2 separate regions of the Homo sapiens genome follow, and region 2 is linked to region 1. The links are contacts of gene promoters, found by promoter capture Hi-C in blood cells and fetal thymus (Javierre and others, 2016). All regions are on one chromosome and are shown on one strand. The core of a region is centred on a gene start or on the middle of the fragment in contact, and the rest is flanking DNA. Distances in the headings are between cores, read along the strand shown. Region 1 holds the start of KRTAP4-4 (keratin associated protein 4-4). Region 2 overlaps LOC105371777 (a long non-coding RNA gene).

Region 1 (3,050 bases), core at 150-2,649:
GCTCCCAACTGGAGGAGAAATAACTAAAGCATGTGTTCACCAACTCTCACTCATTTGTTGAATACTATTCCAAGAGGCTTTAACTCTACAGTCCAGAGCTTGCTCCTTGGCTAGAGAAACTCTTCAAGAAGAGAGTTCCAGGTGCTTGCTCTAAGAAACCACCATTGTATATTAGAATAAAGTGTGCTGAGGAAATAGAGGTGGTGCCCCTGAAATTACATTCTGCAGAGAAGAACAACAGAAAAATTGACTGGTAATTGACCACACTCAAAAAAGAAAAATAATGAGACACAGTATCTGTATATTTCTATGCCTGAAAATTTATTTAAGATTTATTTAGATAAATATTTGTTTAAAATGGAATAGCTCCATATGAGAAATTATGGCAGAGAGCAAATATTTCAATTAAGATAGTTGACAGATTTCAGAGCAAATTACAACTTATGTTCATTTGGTAGAGAGGTAAAATGTGGGGGGAGCATATATTTGGAGGCCAGATTCAATCTAAGAATTGGTTGGAACTGAAGTTTTCCAACTAGCTTCCCATAACTCAGCTCATAGATGAGCTACATCAAGAATGCTGGTTGATGAGAATCTGGTGAGTCCAGATGACAGCCTCAGCAGCAAGAAGCACTAGAGCAGGTTGGGCGGCAGCACATGGTCTGGCAGCAGTTGGGGCGGCAGCAACTGGAGATGCAGCAGGAGAGCCTGCAGCAGCTGAAGCCACAGCAGGAGGAGCTACTGCTGCTAGAGATACTGCAGGAAGGCTGGCAGCAGCTGGAAATGCAATAGCTGGGGTGGCAGCAGGTGGTCCTGTAGCAGGTGGTTTGCCAGCAGATGGGCTAGCAGCATAGAGACTGGCCACAATGGGGCCTGTAGCACCTGGACACACAGCAGCTGGGGCGGCAGCAGGTGGTTCTGCAGCAGGTGGTCTGGCAGCACTGGGGTCTGCAGCAGCTGGACACACAGTAGCTGGGGCAGCAGCAGGTGGGCTGGCAGCACACAGACTGGCAGCACTGGGGCCTGCAGCAGCTGGGGCGGCAGCAGGTGGTCCTACAGCAGGTAGTCTGGCAGCATTGGGGTCTGCAGCAGGTGGGCTGGCAGCACACAGACTGGCAGCACTGGGGTCTGCAGCAGCTGGACACACAGCAGCTGGGGTGGCAGCAGGTGGTCCTGCAGCAGGTGGTCTGGCAGCACTGGGGTCTGCAGCAGCTGGACACACAGCAGCTGGGGCGGCAGCAGGTGGTCCTGCAGCAGGTGGTCTGGCAGTAGCTGGGACGGCAGCAGTTCTCTAGGCCACAGCCCTGGTCAGAGCACACAGAGCCACAACAGGAGTTGACCATGGTGTCAGAGGGTGGAGGTTCTGGGTGGGTTTCCAGGAAGGAGGGTTTGGAAGGCTTGGAAGTCTCCTTGCCCCAGATCCTCTTTTATACCCTGCTCAGGGCTGATGTCATCGGATGCAGCACTCTTTCCTTGTCATTGTTTGTTCTGATGAGCAGGCAATTATCAAATTAGGCAAGTTTGTTTTTCTGCTTAAATTTGTCAACATGGAGAAAAGCATTATTTCCTTCCCCTGGTGTGTTAGGATTCTTCAGGTCAGCTCTTCTTGAACAACCTCTTGTGTGCCTCTTGCTGCAGCTTCCTCCTTGAGCTGCCATGTGACATCTGCCTGCAGGTACCATGTGCTGCAGCCTCATTTTCCTTAATACATTATGTCTGACCTTGGGTGATTTTAATTCTTCTAGGCCCGTAATTTTCTTTTGGTGACTCAGGAGGAGAAAGCTGTGCTTTAATCTCATGGCATGTTTGTTATAGATCAAGTGAGCAATGAAGGTTTGAATGTGAAACAGGTGACCAGTGGCATGAAAACAAATACTATTAGGATATATTCCTTGCCACCTTCCATACAATGAATCATGACCCATTTTCTAGATGTTCTACTGGGGAAAGCAGAATTGTTTTAAGGTGGACATCTAAGTCATGAATTATCGATGCTTCTTTTTCTTGAGAAACAACACTCCAAAACTCAGTTTCAGGGCCTTTAGGGGAAATTGGCTACAGAGATCAGCTATACTAAAAGGTTCAGGTCCCTCCGCTCTCTGCTCTGAGGGGCTGATTTTCCTTCTGACTTTTCCTTCCTGTCTCTCTGGCTTTAACAATCACATTGAGTCATCTCCTCTATTTCTAAGGTTTACTTGCCAACCTAAGGTAAAGGACCCAGTGTCCTTGCTATATATATATAATATATATATATATATATAATATATATTATATATATACATATATATACTATATATAGTATACACACACACGTATATACACACTATATATAAATATACACACTATATATAAATATGCACACTATATATAAATATACACACATACACACACATATATGTGTGTGTATGTATGTGTGTGTATGTGTGCGTGTGTGTGTGTATATATATATATATATATATATATACACACACACACGCACACATACACACACATTATGTCTGACCTTGGGTGATTTTAATTCTTCTAGGCCCATAATTTTCTTTTGATGTATATGTATATATATATATACACTCACACACACACAGGTTTGGGGGAATATATATATTCTGCCAAAGGACCTTAGGAATATATATATATATTATACATATATAGATGGGTAGATAGAGAACCTTATATATAGGTAATATAGGAATATATATATTTACATATTTATGAATATATAATATATATTCTTCATATATGTTTGTATTTAATAGTATGTATAAATATATATATAATATATACAATAACATATTTAGAAATATATATATTTATATATATATGTATTTACCTTTATCTCCTAAGGCCCTTTACCTTAGGAATATTATGCACACACACACACACACACACTCAAACACACACACACACACACTCCCCCAAACCTGGATGTTAAAGAAACCCAAGGAAGAAGGCAGAAACTTCCTGTCTTTGTGCCACCCTCCACTTTGGGATGCTCTTGGGTTAGCAATTTCTGTTTGGACTGGTCTCTCTGAGGATACTATGGACACCCC
Region 2 (3,050 bases), core at 320-2,819, 260 kb before region 1:
ACAATCTGTGGCTCCATCTTAGCAAGTCTTTCCAGTGCTTCGGATGCATGGTAAAGTTGGAGAACCATGGCTGTAAAGTATCAGTAGTCGAGGAGCAGGAAGATATTTCCACTGGTTGTACATTTTAGTTTAGAATGCTTGATCTTGTCAAGCGGAGCCCCACATTGAATCACATGTTTCATAAGGCAGTAATTCTAACTTTGAAAGAAGTCACGATGCTCTGACTAATTTGAAATTTATTTTTATTTCTGAGGGAGATTTGGACATGGAAAGGGATGGCAAGAAGTGAAATGGTTGAAAAAATAAAGAGTATGACATGATCTGGCAATTATTAACCTGGGGAAGTGAAGAGTGAAAGAAGAAGCAATCGAGCCACATGTTATCTCTGTAAATGGTGAAGTGACTCACCCTAGGGCTCACCAGGAACAGGAAGATGTCGTTTCTTTCTTGCCTCCAAGTGGCAAGCAGGGACTGTGTGTCCTTCATTCATAGCTGCTTGAGAATCAATTACAATAGGTGGGATGCTGTGATAGCCAATAGGGTTCAGAAATCAAGACACAGTCCATGATTCCGAGGAGGCGGCAGCCTAGCCGGAGACGGTGACTAATCGGGAATTATATATAATGTTCACGAAAAGATTTGTGGATATAGAGGAAGGATCCCCAAGTAAAGCTGGGTGGGAGGGAGTCATTGAAGTTTTCCTGAAAGTGCAGAGTTTGAGGGAGAGTCCAAGCTGGAAAAGCACAGGGACATGGAGGTGGCCCACGCATCCCTAAAGTGCAGCGATGAGTAACTGGTGGATAAGTCACAGCCCATAAATCTCAGAATTCATCCATTCACTCCACAAATATTTACTCAGTACCTGCTGAGGGCCTGGCACTGTTCTAGGCCATGAGGATACTTCCGTGAGCAAGACAAACACAAATTCCTGCTGACAAGGCTTCATTCTAGCAAAGGGATATAAACCCCATACAGATAATATATATGTAAATTATAAGACAATGTGATGTAATCACACTGGAAAGGTAGAGAAATGGCAACCGGAGGTGTGAGATGGTGTAAGAATCCTGTGATGCCATCTTCTACAATGGGGATTTAGGTCTTTAATGTCTTCTTTTTTTTTTTTTTTTTTTTTTTGAGACGGAGTCTCGCTCTGTCGCCCAGGCTGGAGTGCGGTGGCGTGATCTCGGCTCACTGCAAGCTCCACCTCCTGGGTTCACGCCATTCTCCTGCCTCAGCCTCCCGAGTAGCTGGGACTACAGGTGCCCATCACCTCGCCCGGCTAATTTTTTTTTGTATATTTAGTAGAGACGGGGCTTCACCGTGTTAGCCAGGATGGTCTCCAACTCCTGACCTCGTGATCCGCCCACCTCGGCCTCCCAAAGTGCTGGGATTACAGGCGTGAGCCACCGTGCCCGGTCTTTAACGTCTTAAGTTGATAAAACAAGAAATAGCAGTGTAAGCATATTCCTTAGAGATATGCAGGTTAATACCAGAAACAATAGCTAAAAGATTTCAGAGAGAAACATTCAGGAGTGGGGACACCAGGGGCTGCTATTTTTTACTATGAACCTTGTATAGTATATGATGTATTCATTCATTCACTCACGCATTCATTCATGAATTCACAAGTCTGTGTGAATATCAGTGTGTGCAAGGTTTTGTTGCAGATGCTGGGGATACAGTAGTTAAAAAAACACAAACGTTTCTGCCCTGGCGGAACTTAGATTCAGGGGTGGGAGCTAGAGGTGAAGGGAGTAGGTCAGAGGAGAAAAAGGAAGGGTGGGGAGGGCTGGGAAAGTTGCCCTTGTGTGTAGAGAGATGAGAATGGGCCTCCCTGTGAGAGTGGTATTTGAATGACAGCAGGAAGAAAAGAGCCATATGGCAGCTCAGGTGCAAAGGTCTATAGCAGTTTAGGTGTGAGTGTGGGTGGAGCAGTGGGGATGTGGGGGTGCTCAGGGATGGAAGGGAGGGTGGTGGAAAGGACCTCAGCAATTCGGAGGTGAATGGTGAGGGATGTGGATGCCATCATCCAGCAAGGAACCTGCCTTTTACTCTGTGATATGAGAAGCCACCGAACTTTGGCGATGGAGTAATTCCTTATATCTTTAAAAAGAGGCACAAAGACCACACCTCATAAATACTGACATCATATTAACAGAATAGATAATACACCACTTTTTCAAATGTATCTTTTTTTCTTTTAATCGCTGAGAGGGAAAAGTAGTATCAGTGGCAGCACACACACACACACACACACACACACACGGAAGAAATGGAAATAAAAGCTAAAGAACAAACTAGTAATGATTCGGAGTGAGACCCCTAACACCTCCCGAATGGGGGCAAGAAGCTCAGGACTCTGGTAGCCCAGGCAGAGTCTGAGTAACTGGCGTTGCCTCTCTTCATGCATCTACCTGATCCACCTGTCCTTCTACCCACCCCTCTGATCCCTAGGAATTCTGAGAGCCTGGTATCACCCAGGTACAAGATGAAGAAGTCTATTGTCCCCTAGAGGGTAAATGGCAAGAGGTGCAGTTTAGGAGGATTCTCAGTCTGGGAGGAGAAGCTAGCTGAGAGCTTGCCACAGATGTAAGCAGGAACGCCCGGCTGAAGTGGGAACGAGGCAGAGGCTGGAAGACACAGCAGAGTGCTGTGCAACAGATGCCGCCTGGCAGACATGGTGCTCTCATCACAAGAGACTGTTATTTGGTACTGAAGTAGCCTTCACATTCCATAGAAAAATGTCTTTCTATTTTTTATATTATACTTTAAGTTCTGGGGTACAGGTGCAGAACATCCAGGTTTGTTACATAGGTATTGATGCGCCATGGTGGTTTGCTGCACGCATCAGCCTGTCATCTACATTAGATATTTGTCCTAATGCTCTCCTCCCACAGCCCTCCACGCCCCGACAGTCCCCAGTATGTGATGCGCCTCCCACCCCCCGTGTCCATGTGTTCTCACTGTTCAACCCCAACTTATGAGAGAGAACACACGGTGTCTGGTTTTCTGTCCTTGTGTTAGTTTGCTGAGAATGATGCTTTCCA

What was found. The method cuts DNA at HindIII sites, captures the fragments that hold promoters and counts their contacts. A CHiCAGO score of 5 or more calls a contact.
Region 2: a contact is called between a fragment that was not itself captured here and the fragment with the promoter of KRTAP4-4 in region 1, in 1 of 17 cell types (neutrophils). The highest score is 5.7, in neutrophils.

Annotation. Positions count from the first base shown.
Region 1 is chr17:41,159,349-41,162,398 of GRCh38, forward strand. It overlaps KRTAP4-4 (keratin associated protein 4-4), which reads right to left and starts at 1,400. Exons shown (of 1, transcript NM_032524.2): 1 at 301-1,400. The coding sequence starts at 1,343. The coding sequence ends at 843. The HindIII fragment of the contact is 13,067 bases long and covers 1-3,050 here.
Region 2 is chr17:40,902,933-40,905,982 of GRCh38, forward strand. All of the region lies in intron 1 of LOC105371777 (a long non-coding RNA gene), which reads left to right. Among named protein-coding and RNA genes, the nearest start is that of KRT20, 19 kb to the left of the region's middle. The HindIII fragment of the contact is 4,098 bases long and covers 1-3,050 here.